Regions from separate parts of the Homo sapiens genome. Here region 2 is linked to region 1. Evidence: promoter capture Hi-C in 16 types of primary human blood cells and fetal thymus (Javierre and others, 2016). All regions are on one chromosome and are shown on one strand. Each heading gives the region's core, a stretch centred on a gene start or on the middle of the fragment in contact. The rest is flanking DNA. Distances are from core to core; before and after follow the strand shown.

Evidence for each region. Contacts are between HindIII fragments. The CHiCAGO score rates a contact against its expected background, and 5 or more counts as called.
Region 2: a fragment that was not itself captured here is called in contact with the fragment with the promoter of TRAM1 in region 1 in 1 of 17 cell types (naive CD8 T cells); the score reaches 5.2 in naive CD8 T cells.

What each region holds. Positions count from the first base shown.
Region 1 is chr8:70,605,485-70,610,387 of GRCh38, forward strand. TRAM1 (translocation associated membrane protein 1) reads right to left here and starts at 2,932. Exons shown (of 11, transcript NM_014294.6): 1 at 2,593-2,932. The coding sequence starts at 2,715. It overlaps LACTB2-AS1 (LACTB2 antisense RNA 1), which reads left to right and starts at 3,093. Exons shown (of 4, transcript NR_038881.1): 1 at 3,093-3,349. RefSeq lists silencers at 1,979-2,428, 2,449-2,628, 2,679-2,738, 2,799-2,848, 2,929-3,098. The HindIII fragment of the contact is 3,860 bases long and covers 1,171-4,903 here.
Region 2 is chr8:73,288,724-73,293,626 of GRCh38, forward strand. RPL7 (ribosomal protein L7) reads right to left here. Exons shown (of 7, transcript NM_000971.4): 1 at 4,876-4,903; 2 at 3,966-4,074; 3 at 3,516-3,682; 4 at 3,050-3,187; 5 at 2,829-2,938; 6 at 2,320-2,529; 7 at 1,519-1,982. The coding sequence starts at 4,889. The coding sequence ends at 2,321. Among named protein-coding and RNA genes, the nearest start is that of RPL7, 2.5 kb to the right of the region's middle. RefSeq lists enhancers at 4,162-4,870, 4,492-4,541, 4,552-4,903, 4,871-4,903. The HindIII fragment of the contact is 3,218 bases long and covers 442-3,659 here.

The DNA of each region.
Region 1 (4,903 bases), core at 1,682-4,181:
AATCCTCTGACATTTCCTCAATGTATCTGCACAACAGGCTTAACAGTTCTGCAAAAAAAAATCAATTTCTCTATTATTCTAGCACAAGTACTGTAATTCTATAATTATGTTAACTTTGAGATTCAGCAGCAATTGTTTTAAAAGTCGAATAGCAAAACTAACCTAGTCTACAAAGTCCTATATATAGATAACATGCTTTGAAATCCTAACACCTTAATATATGGTAAGAAAAAGGAAGAACTCGCACAAACTTCACTTTTGTGTATCACTTTAACACTCACTTTTGAATTGACTTAAAAACCTCTATTTAGTATTTTTGTCTATTTAGATTTTCAAATTTTATAAATTTATATAAAGGTGAAAATCCACTGTTTAAAAAAATCACTAACATGTGAGGCAAGGTATAGGTGGTGGACTTCCCTAGAAATATAGTAAGAGAATGTAAAATAGTTTATATAAAATCAAAGTTATACTATGTGTCAGAATTTCTGATTTATATTTCATTTCATTCAAAGCACTGCAAATATACCTTGCAGGTCACAGTACCCCTAAAATATGTTTTTAAAGTCAGGAATTCTTACCATGTGGAGATGGTTTATGACAAGTTACAGAAAATTGAATATACTACATATATTAAAGTACTACTTTAAGGTCAAAGCAGAAAGTACATGCAAGTATCAAATTCAGAAAGTGAATACAAATGTTTAACATTGGGTTTTTTTTGAGACAGGGTCTTCTTGCTCTGTCCTTCAGGCTGGAGTGCAGTGGTGAAACCTTGGCTCACCGCAGCCTCCACCTCCTGGGCTCAAGTAATTATCCCACCTCAGCCGCCCAGCTGAGACCACAGGTGCGTGCTATCTATCACTCCTGGCTAATTTTTAAAAAATCATTTGTAGAGACAGGGTCTCCCTATGTTGCCTAGGCTGGTCTCGAACTCCTGGGCTCCAGTGATTCTCCTGCCTTGGCCTCCCAAAGTGTTGGGATGTTTACAGGCATAAGCCAGAGCACCAGGCCTAGCACTGTATTTACCTTCACACCATATCATCTGATACTTGCAAAAAATGGCTGTGAGGAGAACAGTACAGGTGATATTATTTCCTGATAAAGAGCAGAAAAATTGAGGCTCAGACTTGGGTCACCCAGTAGGTAGGTGGCACAGCCCAGACTTAAAGCTTGAGAATGTTAGTTTCCTTCTACCTACCCTTTAACTATACCTGCTACCTCCTTAGCAGTGGTTTCAAACATGCATGACACAATCAGGAGTAAATAATATCTGTATCTAGATCCAGAAAAGCCCATTTGATGAGAGGCGAAAATAAGGTTAAAATATTATTTAATTTTAAAATTAAAAAAAAAAACAAATATGCTCCATTAAAAAGAAAATGTATTCACCTTTTGGTCACTGGTAATATCATTCCATTAGGTTTTCTCAAGGATTCTTAACGTCGCTCATCTTTTTTTAAGCACTCCTATGTCCCAGGCACTATCCTAGACTCTGGAAATACAGACTCGTAAAAATACTCCAAAATCTCTACTCTCACTTGTTACATGCAGGAGAGAGGAGACAAAACAAGGCAGGAGCAAAATAATTTGTATATTTACTGAGACATAAAGGCTCCAGAGAAAAATTAAAAAGGGAAAAAAGCAAAGGAATGAGCGTGTGTATTGGGGAGCGAGGGGAAAAACGTAGGATGTTACTCGTTCACCTTGCAAAGTTTATCATCCACATTCAACAGCTGTTAAATAAGTCATCAAAATACTAGATACGTGGGAAGAGAATTTACACACTCCTGACATTCCCATCCTCTCCTACTTCAAGAAACAAAATTACTCGATTCCTTGGCACCGCTGTTCAGAACCTCGATTTATCCATCAGACCTTGTTTCTTTAAAGCGTCAGGGCAAAAAGTTCGTTAACTGGTAATAATATCAGTTTAAAAGACAAAAATGAAAACAATCTGGCGCGCCTCCACTGCGCCGGTGCCCGGCGGCCACCGCCCTTCAAGTCGAAAGCAGATGCCTGACTCCGGTTTCTCGCTCACCCCAATCTCGGAGCTACCGGGGGCTCCCCTGTCACTCGGGGCCTGTGGTCTCCAGGCCGGCACTCCTCAGACCCGGGGGCCGGGCCTCGGCCTTCCCCGGCCCTCGCGGGGCTGACGCTCACCGCGGCCGAGGCTGGCAGTCCCCCCAAGTCCGCCCACCCGCCCCGAGCCAGCTCGGCAGCGCAGGGGCCGCCCCCGCCCGCAGGCCCCTCGCCGGCTGCCACGTAACCCTTCGCGGGAACCAGGAACTGCGCCGCGCAGCCTGCGGGAGGGGGCGGCGGCGGGTCAGGAAGGGGGCGACGCGGCGGTCCCCACCCCCTGCGGGCCGCGATGAGGCCCACCGGGACTTTGCATCTCCGGGCCGGCCGCCGGGGAGCTGCCGCCGACGTGGGGCAGGGCAGGGAAGGCCTGCACCTCAGGGACTGGGGGTCTGCACCCACCCCGGGCCCGAGCCCCCCGCGTCCTGGGCGGAGAAGCCGGGGCTGGCATCTGGAGCCCGGGCCCGGGCTGGAGGTGGCGGGGCAGGCGGTTGGGACTCGGGGCGGGCTCACCTCAAACATGAGCCCCAGCAGGAAGACCATCGCCACACAGGAGACGATGTCCGCGTGATTCTGCAGGACGAATTCGTGGCTCAGCACTGGGGGGCTCTTGGTGCTTTTCTTGCGAATCGCCATGGTGGGGCCGCCGCCCGCGCCTGCAGGTGCTCCGCCCCGGTTCTGCTCTTCCCAGCTGCTCACCGACTCGCCGCCGCCTCCCGCTGGCTGCTCCTCACGGCCCCGCTGCAGCCGCTCGCTGGGGCTTCACTTCCCATCCCACAGCCAGTACGCAGCCGCCGGGCCGCCCGGGGGAAAAAAAAAAACACAACAGCTAGCCCGCAGCGGGGGCGAGCATGCGCACCAGGGAGACGACGCTCCCTGGTGCCGCGGCCGCCTCCGCGAGCCCACAGCGCCACCTGGGGACCGGAGGCCGCTGGCCCGCGGCCGGGCGAGCGTGCAGGAATGTGAGCGGCGCTTCCCTGCTTCGCGCCGGGCCCGGGTTTGGGAGTCGTTTGAGGCGCGAGCTTCCTGCGCCTGCTCAGCAGCCTGAGGCCGCGGCCGGGTGCCCTCCTGCCCTCCTGGCCATCCAGGGATTGGGTGTCAGTGGCCTGTTGCACATTGTCACTTCTACAAGTGACTAACACCGTCAGGATAATCTAAAACTACGAATACTACCTGACTCCACAAGGGTACGGTGTATTCTCCAGTTTTAGCATCTGCCTTAAAAATTACCTCAGAGTTAAGCACTGCTGGGGACTTATTTCTACTCTTGGTAAGTTTGGACTAACTTAAAAAAAAAAAAAGAGCTGACCCTATTCTGGTCTGCCTCTCCGTCCCCACCCCCATCCCCGTCCCCATCCCCACCCCTATCCCCCACTGGCCTCAGACTGAAGACGAAGGGATCAGTTTGGGTTTACTGGCTTCACATATATTCAAATTAACAACATGTTTTAGTAATCTAAGGGAAATAGTAAAAGAGTTAAAAAGGATCGTGGATTAAGACACGTCCTCCTCTTATCGTTTTGCCCAAACCTGGAGTCCTTTGTATTCTTTTTCCTGAAGAATTGCTCTCCTGTTTACCCATAAGCCAAATGTAGAAACCAAAGTCATGCTAGATTGAGCCCTTTCAGCGCCCTTCCACATCCAGTCATCACCAATTCGAGGCAGACCTATCACCCCGCTTCCCCACTACCGCAGTCCGAGGGTACTTGCCTCTTGCCTACAATATTACAACTCTGGTGTAACCACTTAGTGGTTTAAGAATGTGGGTTGTTAAATCAGAATTCTGCCACTTATTACTTGTACGATCAAGGACAAGTTACTTAATCTCTATGGGACCCGATTTCCTCATTTTTAAAAATGTATTCATTTATGTACTTACTGAGGGTTGACTGTGTCCTGGGCACTGGGGATACAGAACTGAAATACAAATTAAATTATTCCTAGGGACTTATCATTCTAGTGTGGGAGAGAATCTTTAAACAAGATTTCAAAAGCGAAACAGATGTTAAATTGAGTTGAGCAACCAGGAGAAAAATAAAGCAAGGGGAATAGGAAAGTGCGAGGCACTTATACTTGCCTGAAGACCTGCAGGAGGTGAGGGAGCAAGCCCTGTGGATATCATCTATAAAGTGGGGATAACTATTGCTCATTTTAGTGATTAAATGAGATGATTGAAGGAAACTGCTTAGCGGGGAGTAAGGGCTTTATAAATTTAGTCAGGGATTATTCTTTTCCTCCTTCTGGGCAATCACTAGTTTCATTTCCCTTCAGATCACCTTTCAACGTTTATACTAGAATGATGCTTCTACTGGCAGAAAGTTTTTCAGCGGGTTCCCTTTCCCTTCATGGAAAGCTAGCATGATGAAATAGCCCTTTCTGATTTGGTCCTTGCCTACCCCAACAGACTGGAGCCCTGCATCTACAGGCCATAATCTCTGTACCAGCATTATTGACTACACACACTATACAGTTGCCTCTCCATATCTGTGGGTGCCGCATACACTGTGGATTCAACCAACCTGGAGTAAAAGATATTCAAGAAAAAAACTGCATTTGTACTGAACATCTACAGACTACCCCCCCATGATTATTCCCTAAATAATATAGTACAGCCAACTATTTATTTAGCAGTTATGTTGTGTTATTATAAGTAATCTAGAAATGATTGGAGGTCTGTGGGAGGATTTAGGATATTCTTTACCAGAATATTGCATCATCTTATATAAGGCACCTGAGCATGGGTGGATTTCGGTATCCGCGGGGGCCCTGGAACCAGTCCCCTGTGAAGACTGAGGGACGACTGTACATGCCATGACATGCTCTC
Region 2 (4,903 bases), core at 801-3,300, 2.7 Mb after region 1:
AAGACAACTTTATAAAAACTGAGATAGCTAAGGGACCATCCACTAGAGAAAGCCGGACCTTAGAAGGATGAACAGGAAATAAACATATATGAGGTGTAATCTTGTAGGAGAACCTACTGGGTGCCCAGACCCCTAAGGTTGGTTAGGCCTTCCAGAGGAGGATCCCTTGAAAGCAATGACATTTATAAGAAGTGAGTTTCCTAATCAGGTGTTAATCTGCATTTGAATAGGTTCCACCAGCTCACAAACATTTTCGTACCTATTATTGTTCCTCACAATCCTCTTATAAAACCAGATTGGTTATCCCACTTTACTCTGTTCTCTATGGGAATCCTGGTTCTCTGCAACCCCTCCCACATTTCCCCATCCTCCCTGGCCCCAGGCCACACTTACAATATGTGTCTGCATGGGCTATATATTTATATATTTTTTTTTAAAAAAAGCTTTGCTAAGTATCTCTCTGTATATAAAGTGCTTATTCCTATCCCAATGAAGACTTCCCACATTTCATGCACCCACCCACCTGCACCTAGATTAAGCAAGCAATACACCATCTGTACAACTTCATTCCATAATTAGTCTTAATTCTGACCCTGCAGAGGCCACTGATGGCCCTCACTATTCCTCTAAAACCTGGAAGCCAAACAGGCTCTGACATCTTCTGAGGCACAACTACCCTTCATGACACTGGATGTGCTAACACTGGGAACTGTACTCTCTATCTACCAAAGCAGTAAGACAAAACTGAATTTATAACTTAAAAACCCTCTGGAGGCAGTGGGTCATGCCTGTAATCCCAACTATTCAGGGGACTGAGGCAGTAGGATTGCTTGAGGCCAGGAGTTCAGTAACATGCTGGGGAATACAGGCTGGTGTGGATCTCATCTCTACAAAGGAAAATTAAAAAATAAACTCTTTGGCTCTACCTAGATATCCATGTACTATTTCAAAATATTGACCCAACTGCTAAGACAAAAAACATCTAGCAAAACACTGATACAATCATAAATATGTAAAATGATTTTTATAAACGATCATCTTGATTTCTCTCCAAAATTCACTGACCCTAAACAAACTTACTAAGCCAGAGAAATAGGTCCCAAAACCAGGAACAAAGAACTCAAAGAAATTCTATTTGTCTAGCAACTTTCGAATATTAAAAAGCAATAAATGACTGTGGAGCAGTAGTACCAAAATAATTACTAAGGGAGCTGTTTCAGTGTGTCAGAACTTTGACAACTAAATGAGGACCACAAACATTTTTACTCTCATTCTATGTACTTCATGTTACACTCTACATTGTTCACTAGTCTAGGTGAAACAATACATGAAGTATAAAGGAATGTTATTTACAAAAAAACCTTTGAAGTTTTTGCCCATTAATTTCATCAGATGCTCTGAAATAATTTGCATCCCTGGGCACAAATTTCATGCCTTCCTTCATAATACCCACAGTATGTAACAATTATTAGTAACTCACGTAAGTATGGCAAAAGATGCAAAACAAGAACACAAAAATGGAATGCAAAAGGAAAACAACACATTTACATGGCAGTTTATAAACAAGCGAAGGCCCGAGAAATAAATTTTAGCAACTAAATTCAATTTTTTCCATAAACCAAAGTTGGATTACCTTACCGACAAATCATGTACAAATGCTTGTGAAACAGGCTTTCTTAGAATAAACCCATTTCGAATCACTCAGCACAGTTAAAAAACAAAAAATTAAAATCTTTTGTATAGAAAAGCCTTTTAAAAACCCAAGAGATGTCTTTCACACAGACTCGACCCTGATTTTGCACGAAATGGGCTGTTGATTTGGCTTAATTTTATCACACACCACACTTGCCACAGTAGTTAAGGGAAGACAGAGGCAGGCTAACAACAACAACAACAAATCACAAATACAACAATATATTTCAATTTGAGAGCAGGTACTGTTTATTAACCAACCAGCTTAGAAAAATAATCATGGTAGACACCTGAAAGGAAAAAAGAAAACCATTAGAAAACACTTTAGGCAGCTAACAATTAACATAAACTAGGCAGTTATAAAGTAATGATTGAGTTTACATTTTTAAGACCACCCAATTTCCATCTTTAAAGACTCCCCAAAACAGGCTTTTCCTTTCCTCCAGAAAGGTCCTCAAAAGCAGTAAACAAACCAACTGTAATCATTAAGATAGTTGACCCCCACTCCCCACAAAAGCACTGATTAAAATTCAAACCCCCATCAATATTTAATGGGAAAAGTATTCAAGATTACCACCACTTATACTCTAACATTAACTCAACCTTTCTCAGGATGAGGTCTCTCACCTTAGTTCATTCTTCTAATAAGCCTGTTGATCTGGTCCTCCCTGTTGCCAGCATCTCCACCTTCTACAAAATGGGTGGTCTTTTTCTTCATTCCACCTCGTGGAGAAGACAATTTGAAGGGCCACAGGAAGTTATTTGCCTCTTTGAAGCGTTTTCCAACAGTATAGATCTCATGAATCAAATCCTCCATGCAGATGATGCCGTATTTACCTAAATATTTTAAGGTTATTTAAGATTATTAAAGTTGCAAAAAGTTTTGAAATAATTATTCAAAATCTTTTTGAATAGGCTGTGAGATGAAAACATAACCAGGAATAAACAAGGTAAATGCATGGCTTTACAAAGATAAGGTTCAAGCTAATGAAACCATGTCTTACGTTTTCTTTTAAGCTAAATCAAGAATCATAGGGAACACATGAAGATTCACAATAGTGAGAAATGTACGGCCACAAGAGGGTAAGAAATTATCGCATGGTCTAATACCAAATTTTCCCCCAAATAGAACCTACCAAGAGATCGAGCAATCAAAGCGTTATCTGTCAAAGCAATTCGCTTCTTATTGATTTTGCCATAACCACGCTTGTAGATTAGTTCATTTACTGACTTCAGATTGGGGTACCTGAAGTGAAAAAGCAAACATAAATAAGGTGACCACTGTTAAAACATCTAAAATTCATGTTGCTACATAACCAATTTATCAAATAGAAATCAAAGGAGAAAAGAGACTTACCCCCATGCAATATATGGCTCTACAATCCTCAGCATGTTAATCGAAGCCTTGTTGAGCTTCACAAAGGTTCCATTGAAGATTTGACGAAGGCGAAGAAGCTGCAACACCTTTCGAACCTTTGGGCTCACTCCATTGATACTGTGGTGAAAACGGACCAGAAATGCATTTGCCTTTCATCGAAATTTTTATTAATACTAACCATTATAGTTTTGAATATCGAATCCTACCTAAACAGATAGGAATCCTCTCATGTTACACACTGAATTTCTGTATTCTATTAAGAGAAGGGATAGGAGCTTGGGGAACATGGCTTGCAACTAAACCATTAGTGATCAGCACCCTCCTTGTTCTAGCTTCCCCTAAAATATTGTTACTCCGGTGTTTCAGAATCAGGGCTCCCAGAAGTAATGTGAAGGTTTTTTTTTTTTTTCCCATTCAAACCCGAATGCAGTAAAACTGAACTTACCCTCTGATTCTGATGACAAACGCCAATTTGGGTTCTGCAGGTACATAGAAGTTGCCAGCTTTTCTTGCCATCCTCGCCATTCGAATTTCAGTTCTGTACATCTGCCTATATTCCTTGTGATAGTGCTTTGCTTTTTCATAGATAAGCTTCCTCCTTGCCTTTCGAAGCTGAAAACCAATAATCAGTTATTCATAATTTTTAGCTCAATCACAATTAGCAATGCCAATCATTAAAAAGAAAACTACAACATGTTTCCTTTAAATCTTTTCTTGCCACAGTATGCAATTACATCCCCCACCAAAAAACCCCACTACCTTCAGATTGTAACATTAGGTAGCTAAGCAATTACTCAGTACAGTTAGGAAGTAAATCTTGCCAAGAACATTCACCTCATCCTCAATCCCAATAAGGCGCCTCCTTATGTGCTAGTGCCTCAAAAAGTTTACTTACCATCTTTTGGGCAAACTTCTTTCTCAGGCGCTTGATCTTCAGCTCTGCGAAATTCCTTCGCTTTTTCTTAAGGGTTTCTGGCACAGCAGGAACCTCCTTCTTCTTCTCTCTAACGTTAATAAACAAAAATGTTATCAATAGCTCAAAAAGCTCACAGCGCTGTATTACTCCCGTACTGAGCAGTGTTGTTTACCAGAAATGCTGTCACTGACTTTAGTCACTAGTAACTTTACTTGCTCTGGCATGCTACAGTGTACGATGCATATTTTAGCTCCATGTCAATAACCTTTAACACCATGTTGCCTAAAACGCAATCACAAATATGACAATAGCAATACGTTTTTCCCTATTTCAACCAAGAGGCCCGGCCTCCGACGACTAATTAAAAAAAAAAACAAAAAAAACACACCAACACCCGAATAACAAAATGTACTAGCTGAAAGACTACTGCAAGGCACTGACCCCGAGACTTTAAGCGCAAAAATTAAAAAATAAAAATAAAAAAAAAACAAGCCACCACCACTCTGGTTCAATCAGGATCCACATGTTGAAAGCAAAGGCCTGGCGGCAGGGAGGCCTGTACCAAGCACCAGCCAAGGACGAACACAATTCAGAGGTTCTGCGCCTCCCCCGAAAGACCCTCTACCGAGGACTGGGCCGTCAGCCAACCGACGGGTTCCACACACATTCCAACCCGACATCTCGTTCCCGGGATCTCCAAAACCTCCGTCCTAAGACCGCCCGCATCCCAACCCTAGCCTCAGGTCCCCACTGGTGTCACACAGCGTTCACAATCAAGCAGGGAGGTGGGCAAAGGTGCAAGCTACGGCCAGAGAGAGAAAAAGTGACACAAAAAGTATCTGGCTCTGGAGATGGAGAAGGATTCTCAAGAGGACCAGAAGCAACTCACTCTACACCCTCCATGGTTCCAGCCGGAA